Regions from separate parts of the Homo sapiens genome. Here region 2 is linked to region 1. The links are contacts of gene promoters, found by promoter capture Hi-C in human tissues and cell types (Jung and others, 2019). All regions are on one chromosome and are shown on one strand. Each heading gives the region's core, a stretch centred on a gene start or on the middle of the fragment in contact. The rest is flanking DNA. Distances are from core to core; before and after follow the strand shown. Region 1 holds the start of ADCY10 (adenylate cyclase 10). Region 2 overlaps DCAF6 (DDB1 and CUL4 associated factor 6).

Region 1 (7,664 bases), core at 1,532-4,031:
AATGTACTTTATGTTCTTGGCTCCCACAATGTAGCCTAAATATTTGCCCTGGCATGCTTATACTGGTCCAAGCAACCATTAGGTCATAGCCTGTTCCTCTTCCTTATTTAAAAGTATTTTTACTTTTCTCAGCATTCCACAAGTTACTTCCTCCTTCTTTTGTTCTCCTCTACCTTTGCCTCTTTTAAAAGTTCTAAGTTGCTAGCCGATCGGGACAAATACAGAATGTGAGGTCCTGTTCCGGCCAATGGGCAGTAGGGTGAACGTGTCAGGTTATAAATGACCCCGTCTCCTTTGTTCAGTGTACTCTCGTGGCAAAACTGCTGGCGAGTATACCCTCTCTGCAGGAAGTAAAAATGCCCTTACTAAATAAATTTATGTTCAAGTGCTATTTCTTTATGGCATTGGAGAACAAGCGTTTCAAACAGAGGTGATTTTAGTCAGTGTAGAGATGAATTAGATGATTGTTAAGATTCTATTGTTTTAATTAAGGTGATGTGAATGAACTTGGACAGATTTTTCTGTTTATGATGACCAAACAAGGAAAGTACATGCATTTTGAGATTAAGATGGCATATGTAGATGTGAAACTAAAAGAAGAAAATGATAGGTTTAAAAGGCAGGGAGATCTAAAATAAATATCTGGGAGTTTCTTATGAACACCCATAAAAGACAATAGAAATTTTCTATTTTTGAAGATATAGTTTTCTGCTTTAAGTTCTGCAACATCACAAAATGATTAGTGATAGCTGTATTTACCTTTCTACAGGCACATACCACATTGTAATTATAATTTATTATGACCTTTTTATGTGAAGCATTCTATTGTAGGAGTTATTAAGAAATTATTTTAGGCAGATAGAGAGGAAAAGGGGTCCTTGGGAAATTTTCATTTTTTAAAGCATCTCCAGAAAATTTCTTGTAAAGCCTTGGCTCTTAGAGCCAGGCCGGCAACCTTTGATAAGCAAATGAAGGCCATTAGAAACAGGGCCCACCCAACATGGCGATTCCGGAGGCCTTCTTTCCCTTGCCCCACATGTTCCTGGCAACATGGCCACCTCCACATACTCCCACGTGTGTAGAACATCATGGCACCCTGCATTTGCATATTAAAAGGCTAGGGTGAGAGGGCTAGCTTTTTCAAGGGCTTTGTGAATGACATGCCTGGTCAAACCAATCCCCTGAACCCTATGCAAATCAGACACTGCCTCCTCCAGCGTCTGTAATATATACCTAGCTGACGTCCACCCCACTGGGGGTTCCCTCTCTCGGCTTTGGAGCCCCCCTCCCTCTGTCTCTGTATGGGGGAGCTTCTTCCCTCTTTCCTCTTCCTTCTTGCCTATTAAACTCTCCGATCCTTAAAATCACTCCACATGTGTCTGTGTCGTTTTATCTAAACCGGGATGAGGACTAAGAACCTTGGTGTTCCTCCACTCATCGGAGCCGTATCAATTCTACATAGGTTGCCTCATTTAATCATCCAAACAGCGCTATGAAGTAGACCTGATTTCTATAGATATGAAAACTGAAGCACAGAGGTATTAACTTGCTCTGGGTTATAAAGCTGGAATATCCAGGTCTGTGGGACTTGAAAGTCCCTGTTGTTTCTACTATATCATGCTATATCCCATTTGTATACGCTTTATAGCACTTTGGGGATGTATATGACCTAGACAAAAGATGTAGGTTTAATTTAAGAGCACTTTCAATGCATGTTGATGGTACCCTTATCAACTGTTCAGCCAATTCTATCACATCAAGAATACAGCATGAACAGCATGGGTACTGACAAAGCGCGGAAGCACCTTGGAATGAGAAATGAGGATACCTGAGTCAAAAGGCAAGCAGGCGAATGAGGCCCGAAAGATAAACCAAGAAGGATTCCTGAATGCGGAGTGTGAGTAAAGAAAACTCAGTAGTACCCAAAAATGAAAAGAGAAATTAGGGTTCGATTATATTCATCAGTTTCTCTAAATCTCTCCTCTAGAATTTCCTAATAGATTTTATATTCAACTTTTCACCTACATGTAAAGTCAGGTTTCACGAGTCCAAAGAGGGAGATACTCTGAACTTAAAGGCACAGTGTTACCTGTCATGAAAGCTTGCTTGCCTACTCTAGCCATGGTAATTTTTCTTCTGAGCTATTGTGGCTCTTAATGTCTACACTTAAGTGGCTTATTTCCCATACAAATATCCTTGATTATCTTTTGAATTGCTTCTATTTTGTCTTCATCTGAATTGTAAGCTCCCCGTTTGGAACCATCTTCTACATATCTTTGTTTACTCCACAGCACCTTGCCAGAGCCCCCTTCAAGAGGTAGGCACTTGGTAGTTGTTGACTGATAAAAAGGAGGATATCACGTGAGAAACTGCAGAAAAGAGGCAAATAAAGAAAGTAAGCTAGAAAGACAGAGCATCCAGGTTGAGAAGGTGAGGCAATATTTAAGCCTTCAAGCTTCTAAGCTCATGTAAGGGACTGACACAGAGGTATACACAAACTTGAACCCTGACTTCTAGCCCCAGGCTTCCCACTCCTCTGCAATAGCTGTCTTCTTTCCTGACGGTCGCCCTCATCTTCAGCTCTGCAATCAATCTTTCTGCTGAGACTCTTACTTCCACATACCTCCACTTCATCCAGGGCTGAGGAAAAGCCAGACCTCAGTTAGGGACTAGGTCTTTTAAGACTGCAGAAGACAGGAGAGGAGGCCGGGTGACATTATTCTGAAGACAGCTGAAGCGCCATGTCTGTCTATAGCTGACCCATAAAATGACAGTTTTGTCTAAAAGCCGTTTTCCAGGCCACACCCTCATCAGTAGCTCATTGTTCCACGGGCACCGACCATGTTTCTGATTGGGTGGCACTGCCGTCCCCTCCCCCACCAACCTGAGTGGCCTACTACTGTACAAGGAAGGACTGGCTGTTTCAGGTTCTCTTATCCGCACATTTGAGGCAAGGGTCAGGGGAGACTGACATGACCCCAGAGTAGTTTACACAATTCTTCCCTTGGCCATGTGGAGGATGGTTGAAATTAGGCAATAGTTGGTAGGTGATCATCAGAAGTATCTCCAGAGCAAGCAAACACCTAATTTTAGTCAATAGTGGTTACAGCTTGTACCAGGACTATGAAATTTACCAGTTATAATAAATTCAATACTTACCTTCAGATATATTTGTGAGGTAAATTTTTGTTTGAAGAATTATATACCTGCCCTTTCTGACTGGTCAAGTGCACGCTTTTAATCAAATTTATCCCAAAGATAACTTGAAATCCAATGGGCACTGGATTTGAGTTTTCTTTATCTGATGTGACACTGGAAAAATGTATTTTAAGAGGCTGGTGTGTTTTCTAACAGCTTAAATCATGTGTTGATTTTCTAAATGTTCTTATGTATATCATCACAACCACAATTATCATTTAGGGGCACAGCTTTTAAAATTGGAATTTAAAAAGTCTTATTTAAAAAGCTGTACATGTTCTCCTATAAAGCCCCGCTCTGTAATTGTTTACTGTGTACTTCCAAATGTTGTAAAACACAGTTGTCTTAGGGAGGAAAACAAGAGGGTCATTTAATTATGTTCATTGAGTGAATTTTCTGGTGTGAGTTGTGGAAACCAGTCTTATAATTAGAATCATACCTCATTTAATTAAACAATCCCCTTAGGGAGAGCTATTCTTAATAAATGCCAGTGTTTTCTATTTCTGCTTCATTATATAAACAGGCTCCAGTAGAGACCTTTGTTTTACAGAAAGGAACCTTAGCTTTGAGGTCCATCCTCATTAACATTCAACCTTTCGCTATGATTTTATAAGTTAAAAAAGAAAATATTTACTATGAGGAAACAGCAGCACTGACATACCTTGGATCAAAGTTTCCTTAAAAGAGATGCCATACCACAAAAAAAGACTAAAGAATTTATCTCTTATTGAGCATTCTCCACCCCACCTACTACTCCTCTACCCCAAGCAGCTTCTTTTCTGCTATAAAGTTATTAGTTCAGAAACCGTGCAAATAGGTTAACACAGTATATCCTTTTTGTAGTAAAATTAAAACTTCCTTTAAAGTACTTAAAGAAAAGTACTTTCTGGGTCTACCTTCAATTAATAAGATTACCATTTTCTGAACTTTCTTCTTGTTGCCCAGGCTGGAGTGCAATGGCGTGATCTCAGCTCACTGCAACCTCCACCTCCCTGGTTCAAGTGATTCTCCTGTCTCAGCCTCCCAAGTAGCTCGGATTACAGGCATGTGCCACCATACCCAGCTAATTTTTTTGTATTTAGTAGAGATGCGGTTTCACCATGTTAGTCAGTCTTGTCGCGAACTCCTGACCTCAGGTGATCCACCTGCCTCGGCCTCTCAAAGTGCTGGGATTTCAGGCATGCACCACCGCGCCTGGCCCGTTTCCTGAACTTTCCATATCTTCAATATTTACTGTGGACCAGGCACTGTGTTAAAACCTTATCTCAATCTTTAGAACAATCCTATGAAGTCAGTACTATGATTATCCTCATTTTGCTCTTGAAAATATTAAAGGTCAGAGACAGAGGTTAACAAAGTCTCACAGTTAATGTGTGGCAGAGTTGAGTTGAAACCCAGGGCTGTCAGACTTGGCATTGAGAAAGAAAACTTACATAGTGAAGCTATCAATAAAGACCTGTCAAAAAGCTGTGATAAAGAATTCAACTCAACTATACTAATCGATTTGCACCACTGTGGAAATTATTTTTACGGAGTTCAGTAACTGCATTGATAGTAAGGACTTCTAATATATTCTTACTAAGTCTTTGAGAATAGTTGTGAAACTGATAACTAGGCTATGTGTTCCAAGTGGCAATGAGAGTTTTTGACAGGATACATATTGTTACTTTTTGAGATGGGAGTTTTGCTCTTGTCGCCCAGGCTGGAGTGCAAAGGCGCGATCTCAGCTCACTGCAACCTCCGCCTCCTGGGTTGAAGTGATTCTCCTGCCTCAGCCTCTGGAGTAGCTGGGATTACAGGCGTGCGCCACCACACCCAGCTAATTTTTGTATTATTAGTAGAGACGGGGTTTTACCATGTTGGCCAGGCTGGTCTCGAACTCCTGCCCTCAGGTGATTCACCTGCCTTGGCCTCCCAAAGTGCTCGGATTACAGGCGTGAGCCACCGCACCTGGCCAAGATTTAATTTTTAAGATTAAAAAATTGGATAGATTAAGAGTTTTGGGGCAGAAAAGAAAAGAAGCATGTGATGGTTGTTTGTCAATGAAACTTCTGAGAAACAAGAAAGGAGGACTGCCTATGATTGTATCTAAATGCTACAACAAATTTGACTGACAAGAGGGGCTTAGGAGACCCCGCACAGAAGAGGTTTTAATGAAAAGGAAGTGAAACACCAAGCTCACATAAATTTTTAATAAACTTTTTTGTGTCTATGTCATATTTCATAATGTTTTTCCTAAATGCTTAACCTAGGAAACACATGTGTGCACACCCATGCCAAACACACAAATGAATTTAACAGTGTGGTTTATGAAATGAAAGCAATAATAGTTTGACTCTTCAGAACCTCTTCATTGTGGCCTATGTCAAGCTCTCTAATCTTTTCTCCTCAATGGTAGGCCATGGTTAAGGGACAGATGATAAAGTACAAGGTTTTCAATTGCTAACTGCCAAATTTTCATAGGTTATAGTATTACTCAAAAAGTTGTTTTGTCTCATTTCTTCAAATTTTGAAATAACTTGCTTTGCTGACTCATCTGACTATATTTTTAATGAGGACTGGCTTTATTAGCACTTTTAGAAAAAAAGCTCTGCACTCCACACTGAAAGTCAAATCAAATAGATAGTTAATTATTTGTAGCGTGGAGTAATGTATGCTCAGTCTCTCCTCACAACGGAGCCAAAGGTCACAAACATTTACAGAAAACCTACTTATGTCCCAGGTACTCTGCTAGGTACTTTCCTAACTTGTCTAAAGTCACAGCATAGGCTGGGTATGGTGGCTCATGCCTGTATTCCAGCACTTTGACAGGACGAGGCGGGCAGATCACCTGAGCCCAGGAGTTCGAGACCAGCCTGGGCAACATGACAAAACCCTACCTCTACAAAAATACAAAAATTAGCTGGGTGTGGTGGTGTGTGCCTGTAGTCCCAGCTGCTCGGGAGGCTGAGGCAGGAGGATCACTTGAGCCCAGGAGGTAGGGTTTGCAGTGAGCCGAGATTGTGCCACTGCACTCCAGCCTGGGCCACAGAGCGAGACCCTGTCTCAAAAAAAAAAAAAAAAAAAAAGTCACAACAGATAAGTCATAGAGCTGGGATTCAAATTCAGGTCTGTCTGAATATAGAGTATTTTCTGCTACATTATCAGTTACTGAGGGTAATTGAAAAATTTAACACTTATCATGGACCAGGCACTATGTTAAAACATTATCTCATTAATCTTTACAATGATCCTATTTAAAAATCTGTAGCTGTAAAAGAATTTTATACAACATTTATACAAAAATCATCAAGATTCTTCATGGCAAGTTAAAATGTTTTTAAATAGTTTGAGGTCATCTTGATAGTCATTCCACTACCCATTTCTCAGTCTCTTCAGCAAAATTTCCTTTCACTTATAGCTAGCTACCTGACCATCCTACACTAAATAAGCAGATAATTTAATCTTCCAACTTCTTGAATTTGTGTGTTCTTTTATGTACATATGTTGGCTGACTGGAACAGAAGGAGGCAGGGGGTATATACGAGCAAGTATGGTTTATTACGGACAAATGGTAGAAAAATGTTACTAATATCCATAGATAAGTTCCTTAAGTCATGTAGAGAGACTGTTATTAAAAGTTTGCTGCATTTTTCTATTGAATCAAGAACTAGCTACCAGTTACAGTGCCTTCTAAACACACAGTTAGCTTTGCTTTATCAATAACCAAATAATAAACTAGGTCCCAATGGTTTTGTCCACATCTAGATTGTTCAGGTGATCAGGAACTCTTTTATTTGTGTGCTTTAGCTTTTAGTTCTTGGTTATATCTATAAAGAAAACAGAAAGAAAAATAATCATCAATAATAATAGACAAATTTATGGTAAGGAGAGAATGGGAAGCATACTCCATTTCTTCTTTCTTGGTGGTCAAGTAGCTATACAGTTGTAAACAGAATCTTCCCGGAGGGCTTACAGGTAGAAACAGGCAGAAAGGAAAGGATTCAAAGAGTTCATTTGCATCTGGATTTTGTTTCAGATAATAAGAGCACAACTGCCAAAAACTTTTTTTTTTTTTTTTTGAGATGGAGTCTCACTCTGTCGCCCAGGCTGGAGTGTAGTGGTGTGATCTCGGCTCGCTGCAAGCTCTGCCTCCCGGGTTCACGCCATTCTCCTGCCTCAGCCCCCCGAGTAGCTGGGACTACAGGCGCCCGCCACCACTTCTGGCTAATTTTTTGTATTTTTAGTAGAGATGGTGTTTCACCGTGTTAGCCAGGATGGTCTCGATCTCCTGACCTTGTGGTCTGCCTGCCTCGGCCTCCCAAAGTGCTGGGATTACAGGAGTGAGCCACCATGCCCGGCCTGCCAAAAACTTTTAACAGCTTAGCTGACATATAGTTTCCTGTGCAAAAGTATTATTTTAATAAAAATATTCTCATTCTGGAATTCTACAAGAACGTGACAAACTTGTGAACATATGTATAAAA
Region 2 (7,664 bases), core at 2,248-4,747, 51 kb after region 1:
ACTGATTTTAGTTTAATTCCATTGTGGTCTAAGAGTAGACACTGTTTGATTTTTATTCTTTTAAATTTGATAAAGTGTATTTTAAGGCCTCAAGTGTGGTCTGTCTTGGTAAATGTTTCATGTGAGCTTTAGAGGACTGTATATTCTGCTGTTGTTGAATGAAGTAGTCTATAAATGTCCGTTATATTCAGGTAATTGATGGTTTTGAGTTTAACTGTGTCCTTACTGATTTTCTGCCTGCTAGGTCTGTCTGTTTCTGATAGAGGGAATTGAAGTCTCCAGGTATCATACTAGATTCATCTGTTTCTCTTTATAGTTCTGTCAGTTTTTATCTCACATATTTCGATGCTCTGTTGTTAAGCACATACATGTTAGGGATTGGGAAACTATGTTGTCTTGGGGAAACTGACCTCTTTATCGTTATGAAATACCCTTCTTTTTCCCTGATAATTTTTCTTGCTTTGAACTCTGGTCTGTCTGAAATTAATGTAACTACTCCTGTTTTCTTTTGATTTGTATTAGTATGATATATTTTTCTCAATCCATTTACTTTTAATCCATATGGATCTTTATATTTAAAATGGATTTCTTGTAAACAACATATATTTGGATCTTGTTTTTTGATCCACTCTGACAGTCTCTGTCTTAATTTTTAGGCTGGGTGCGGTGGCTCACCCCTGTAATCCCAGCACTTTGGGAGGTCGAGGTGGGCGATCACCTGAGGTCAGGAGTTCAAGACCAGCCTGGCCAACGTGGCAAAACTCTGTCTCTACTAAAAATACAAAAATTAGCCACGCATGGTGGCACATGCCTATAATCCCAGTTACTTGGGAGGCTGAGGCAGGAGAATTGCTTGAACCCAGGAGGCAGAGGGTTGTAGTAAGCGGAGATAGCACCACTGCACGCCAGCCTGGCGATGAAGCGAGACTCCATCTCAAAAAACAAACAAACAAAAATGTTGCCAGGCGTGGTGGCTCACATCTGTAATCCTAGCACTTTGGGAGGCCAAGGCGGGTGGATCACCTGAGGTCTGGAGTTCGAGACCAGCCTGGGCAACATGGTGAAACCCTGGCTCTACTAAAAATACAAAAATTAGCCAAGCATAGTGGCTGGCAGGCACCTGTAATCCCAGCTACTCGGGAGGCTGAGGCGGGAGAATCGCTTGAACTCAGGAGGCGGAGGTTGTAGTGAGCTGAGATCGTGCTGCTTCACTTCAGCCTGGGCAAAAGCGTGAAACTCTGTCTCAAAAAAAAAACCAAAATAATAATTTTTAATTTAGACTATTGACATTCAAAGGGATTACTGGTATAGTTGGATTAATATTTCCTATATTTGTTAACTGTTTCTGCTTTTTGTCTTTGTTCCTTGTTCCTATTTTTGTTTTCCATTCTTCTGCCTTTTGTGTTTTTTTTGTTTCTGTTTTTTTTTTTTTTCCCTTTTGAGATGGAGTCTCACTCTGCCACCCAGGCTGGAGTAGAGTGGTTCAATCTCAGCTCACTGCTACCTCCGCCTCCCAGGTTCAAGTGATTCTCCTGCCTCAGCCTCCTGAGTAGCTGGGATGCCACCACACCCAGCTAATTTTTGTGTTTTAGTAGAGATGGGGTTTCACCATGTTGGCCAGGCTGGTCTCTAATTCCTGACCTCAAGTGATCCACCCACCTTGGCCTCCCAGAGTGCTGGGATTACAGGTGTGAGTCACCATGCCTGGACCTTTTGTGGTTTTAATTGAGCATTTCATATAGTTTTTTTTTTCTCCTTCCTTAGTATTTATTAGTTACACCTATTTTTTAAACTTTTTAATTATTTGCCCTAAAGTTTTCACTATACATGTACAACAAATCTAAGTCCACTTTATTTCAAATAACACTATAATGATTCACAGGGAGTGTGAGTACAAAGTAATTTTAAATCTTCCATCTTATACCTTGTACTATTTCTGTTATTCATTTCACTTATTTATAAGCACTCATAAGCATATTTTTGTATATGTGCTAGATATAAGCATAGATGATCAAATACATTGTTGCTGTTATTTTGAACAATAAAATAATTTGTTAGCTCAATTAAGAATAAGTAAAATGAAAGTTTGTGTTTTATCTTCACTTATTCCTCCTTCAGTGCTCCTTCTTTCTTTATGTAGATATATGTCTCTGACCTATGTTTATTTTCCTTTTCTTTAAAGAACTCCTTTTGTAATTTCTTGCAAAGTAGGTCTGCTGGCAACAAATTCCCTCAATGTTAATTTATCTGAGAAAAGTTTTATTTCTCCTTTAGTTTTGAAGGATAATTTTGCGGGGTACAGTATTCTAGGTTGGTTTTGCTTTGTTTTGTTTCCGTTACTGCTTTAAATATTTCACTCTTCTTGCTTACATGATTTCTGAGGAGATGTTGGATGTAATTCTTATCTTTGCTCCTCTATAGATAATGTTTTTTCCTCCAGCTTCTTTCAGGATTTTTTCTTATCTTTGATTTTCTTTAGTTTGAAAAATGCTTGCCTAGCTGTAGTTCTTTTTGTATTTATCCTGATTATTGTTCTCTGAGCTTACTGGATCTATGGTTTGGTTTCTCACATTCATTTGGAGGAAATTATCAGTCATTATTATTTCAGATATTCTGTTCTTTTCTCCTTCTCCTCTGGTATTCACATTATACATGAGTTATGCCTTTTGTAGTTGTCCCACATTCCTTGGACATTATGTTTTGTTTTGCTTTTTTTCAGTCTTTGTTCTTTTTGCTTCTCAGTTTTGTACGTTTTTATTGATATATCCTCAAGGTCAGAGATTGTTTCCTCAATTGTGTCTAGTCTACTAATACGCCCATCAGAGGCATTGTTCCTTTCTGTTACATTGTTTTTGATTGCTACCATTTCCTTTTTATTCTTAGGATTTCCGTCTCTCTGCTGACATTGCCCATCTCTTCTTACATGCTGTCTACTTTATCCATTGGAACTCTTAGCATGCTAATCATAGTTGTTTCGGATTCCTGGTCTTACAGTTCCAACAGTCCTGCTATGTTTGGTTCTGATGCTGGCTTTATCCCTTCAAATTGTATTTTTGCCTTTTAGTATGGCTTGTAATTTTTCTTAATAACTGGACATGAAGTACTTATTAAAAGTAATGGTATAAATAGGTCCTTAGGAATTTACTGGTAAAGTGTAGGAGGAGAGGAAGTGTTCTACAGGCCTATGATTAGGTGTCTGTCACTTAAAGAGCCTATACGTCTGAACTGTGGGCTTCACAAGGGATTATCAGCACCTCCTATTCCCAACTGAGGTGGAACAGGTTAGTAGATTAGGCTGGAGTTATGTATTTTCCTTCCCCAATGCGGAAGGCTGGAATTGGGTATTTCTGTTTGTCTAGGTCAGTTAGGCTCTAATAAAACCTCAGTGGGTAGGCTGTGGTGAAATAGCTTTTCTTAAGGGCAGATCTTGTTAAGAAAGTTAGAGTACTCTGGGATACCCAAAATGGTTTCTTTTTCCCTCCCTCTGCTGGATGTACAAGGTGATTTTAATCTGAAATTTATTGTGAAAATCTGGTTGAGCTCTGAAGTTAAAATCAAATCACAAAAACACCCTCTGCACCATACCCCCACCGCATGACTGGGTTCCCTGGAGTTTTTTTCTTTTTTGAGACAGAGTCTTGCTCTGTCGCGTAGGCTGGGTGCAGTGACACGATCTTGGCTCACTGAAACCTCCACCTCTTGGGTTCAAGCAGTTCTCCTGTCGGGAGGCTGAGGCCTCCCGAGTAGCTGGGATTACAGGCGCATGCCACCATGGCCGGCTAATTTTTGTATTTTTAGTAGAGACGGGGTTTCGCCATATTGGTCAGGCTGGTCTCGAACCTCTGACATCAGGTGATCCACCCGCTTTGGCCTCCCAAAGTGCTGGGATTATAGACGTGAGCCACCGCGCCCGGCCTTCCCTGGAGTTTTTAACATTCAGACTTAACGCTTTCTGAACCTCCAACAATTCATCAATTATAGTTCAGGTTTTCCTACCCTAGCTCTGTTTCTCACAGAGGTTTCTGCTCATGAGTCTGTGCTCTGGTAAGCCAAGACTCCTTGTGTTTACCTGTTCATCTCTGCAATCTAGGGGGTAGCATTTTGTCCTGTGTCCTTACCTCTCTGAAGGATCCAAGATCAGTTATTGATTTTACAGTTTGTTAACTTTTTATTTGTTGTTAGTATGGAGTGGCAACTGCTAAGCTTCTTACGTGTGGAACTGGAAACTGGAAGCTTGTTTTTTTAATACATCAACTATTAAATCAAGCTTGTCTAACACACGGCCCGTGGGCTGCATGAGGCCCAGGACAGCTTTGAATGTGGCCCACATAAATTCATAAACTTTCTTAAAACATTATGAGATTTTTTTGCTATTTATTTTTAGCTCATCAGCTATTGTTAGTGTTAGTGTATTTTATGTGTGGCCGGAGACAATTCTTCTTCTTCTACTGTGGCCAAGGGAAGCCATAAGATTGGACACCCCTATGTTAAATACTTTTTAACGTATAACCTCATTAGTGGTAAAAATTTTGTACCGCCAGGTGAGTGAAAGATGGCATATTTTCTTTTATGTCCAATTTGCTTATATTTCTTTTTTGCTTTCTCTTTAGGTTAATACAATCTGTTGGAATGACACTGGAGAATATATTTTATCTGGCTCAGATGACACCAAATTAGTAATTAGTAATCCTTACAGCAGAAAGGTAAAGTAGTTTAAAAAATCTGTAATTTAATGAGAGAAAAAAAATCAAGAAGGCAGAAATGAAGAAACTGTGAACAGTCATAGAATGGGCATTTATATTAGAATATCCTCCCTATTTTGCTGAGGTTTATTGTATAATTTAGAGGTTCTTAGGTACATGTGGGTCTCTTAGATTACTTAGGGAAACAAGATTTTATTCAGCCTTGGGATCTAGAAAATTTAAATATACTTTATTTAAATGGTTAATAATTGGTACAAGTGACATTATTTCAATAACATTTTTTGGGGGAAAATGTGCCATAAATAAAGTATGAGTTAATGAGAAAATTACTTTTATGTGTTACCTTAATATATTATCTTAACATTCTAAAAAGTTACTTATTTTAATGTTAAGAATAGTGTGGGTAAAGCTGCCAACTTTGGTCATTGTTTCGTTTTCTTAAAAATTTGAAATTTAGTCTTTTAGAAAATTTACATTTAAAACTTTTAAAGACAAAAACAGCCAAATGACTGCGGTGTGAATAGTTCTTGAGGTACTGAGAAAATTAAAATGGTTTCAATGAAGAAAAAAATTACCATAAGCTAATAAACTCCCTCACTAGAAGGCAAGAGATATCTAAGAATTAAATAATTTTCTAACTCTCAAGTAACTTTAATTACTGTTTCAAATAGCATTCCATTTTATCCACAGAATGTTTCCTTTACAAGGATGGTTTCAGAGAAATTAAGATACTGAATGATAAAGCTATAAACAGCTGACTGATTGTAATAAAAAGAAAGTGTGTGATGTTCTTTACACTTGACATAACAGTTAAATGAGAAACCTTCTGTTTTAGAAATATGACTAAATAGTTATTTTAAAATTTGTAAGATCTTAAACATTCAACACATCATTTAAAGTTCCAGTTAAGAATAGGAATATGTATATTTCCTAGCTGCCTCCCAACTCACATGATACATTTTTCTCTCCTGATTGTCTTAAATTTCCTGTATCTTTTTTTTTTTTTTTTTTTTTTTTTTGTGGCAAGGTCTCACTCTGTCACCCAGGCTGGAAGGCTGGAGTACAGTGGTGCGATCTCGGCTTACTGCAACCTCTGCCTCCTGCGTTCAAGCGATTCTCCTGCCTCAGCCTCCCAAGGATCTGGGATTACAGGTGTGTGCCACCATGCTCGGCTAATTTTTATGTTTTTGGTAGAGACAGGGTTTCACCATGTTGGCCAGGCTGGTCTTGAACTCCTGACCTCAAGTGATCTGCCCACCTCATCCTCCCAAAGTGTTGGGATTACAGGCATGAGCCACCACGCCCAGCCCAAATTTCTTGTATCTTTAAGTCTTTTAACATCTATTATTTTAATAGTAATTCCAAAAATGTACTCCAGCTTTTAATTTTTTATGGTAGTAGCAACCGTGTATTGGTGATTGTATCAGTCGGGTTCTAGTCAAAGAAACCACACAGTAATTTCAATAGGGAAAGTGTAATAAAAAGAATTACTACCTATATCAGGAGATTGGAGTAGTAAAGGCTTGGCTGCTAAAAAGTAAAAAGGTCTCTATAAAATACAGAAATAACAGATACTATGAACCGCCACTAACCCTGGGACTGAGATAAACCACTGAAAAGAAGAGACCCCCCCGTGCTGAGTGCTGAGATTTAGACCTTATTGAAGAGGGTGTCATGGCTCACTGGATGGCAGGGAAGTCTCTGTGATGTCATGCTAGTGTAACTTGTTGCGAATTCCCCTCTGGAACTTGGTGGAACACCTCTCTCTAGAGCACTGAGAAATACTTTTTAAGGAGAGGTTTCTCATCAGAGGTAGTATGCTACAAAATGTCTAGGGACGTGGGGAAATGAGGCAGGAGAAGCTGTCGGGTGTTGAACTGTTCATTTAGTAGGTGGGCCCTGGTGAAACTGCAGGACTCTGGTGCTATGGTGTTGGGGAAACTGCCCGTGCTGGAAGACCCTGGCACTGGAAAACCTGTGCATGGTTGCAGGAGCTCCCATTAGAGATAGGAAGCAAACTCCGTTTTCCTGCATTATTCTTTCAGTGCTTTTTACTGGCAAAGCTTAACATCATGCCAACTGGCAAAGGAAAAATATTTGAAGGACTCAGTTCCATTGCATAATCTATAAAAGTGAAGGGTAAATTTGGAACTGAGAGGAAATAATTTGATAAGTGGCACAGTAGTCTTACCTTTATCTGCTTCTTGGTATTATTGCAATGTGAAATTTACTTCATTAATATTTAGGTCTTTGAATGAAGAAGAGTTCCATGAAAATTTTAAAATTATATTATGATTACTATAATGGCAAATATAGATTTATATGTTGGTTTTTTTTTACCATTCTGACCAAGTTATTTAAACTTTCCTTAGCCTTTTTCTTCATATATTAAGAAAGTCATTATGTCTAAAGTCCTTTCTAATATTAATATTTTATATTTGTTTCTAAAAATGTTTTAAAACATTTTTGTCTATTAATTTAGGTTATATAGTGATGTTTGAATGGGCCTGGCTGGCTGTTTGAAGCTGGATCTTACAGGTTATGACTTACTCTTTTAGGCTCATAGAATGTAATCTTCAGCCAAGTAGTTTAAGAAACTGGATTTTTATCAGTTTACAAACAGTGGCTAGGTTCTAGTGAAATGCTTCATGATATACAATTCGATAAGCTGGGATAACATATGAGTTCTAATTAGGTTAGGATTATGTTCTGATTTTCATTGGCTTTTAGCTTCTGAGTTCATATATAGAGGAAGTATACAGCTGTTTTTATATCTGAAAACATGGTATTAGCAGTCCAAAGTGTAATTTAAAATTTTCAGTTTTACAGAATAAATTGTTTATTTCTTGTTTTTCCACACTTAATAAGATATTTAAATAAGTGTGTATCATCTATCAGCTGAAAAAGAAGTTCATATTGAGGCTGTCTTTAATGGGTCGTAGTTTTATTTCATTAAGTTTT

What was found. The method cuts DNA at HindIII sites, captures the fragments that hold promoters and counts their contacts. A contact is called where the count stands out against the background at its distance.
Region 2: a fragment that was not itself captured here is called in contact with the fragment with the promoter of ADCY10 in region 1 in 2 of the 25 tissues and cell types used here (adrenal gland and ovary).

Annotation. Positions count from the first base shown.
Region 1 is chr1:167,911,353-167,919,016 of GRCh38, forward strand. It overlaps ADCY10 (adenylate cyclase 10), which reads right to left and starts at 2,782. Exons shown (of 33, transcript NM_018417.6): 1 at 2,624-2,782. MPC2 (mitochondrial pyruvate carrier 2) reads right to left here. Exons shown (of 6, transcript NM_001143674.4): 6 at 5,323-7,007. The coding sequence ends at 6,971. It also overlaps a transcript of DCAF6 not described here. RefSeq lists enhancers at 1,810-2,486, 2,487-3,163. The HindIII fragment of the contact is 16,444 bases long and covers 2,279-7,664 here.
Region 2 is chr1:167,962,019-167,969,682 of GRCh38, forward strand. It overlaps DCAF6 (DDB1 and CUL4 associated factor 6), which reads left to right. Exons shown (of 22, transcript NM_001198956.2): 3 at 4,611-4,703. Among named protein-coding and RNA genes, the nearest start is that of MPC2, 29 kb to the left of the region's middle. The HindIII fragment of the contact is 4,037 bases long and covers 1,480-5,516 here.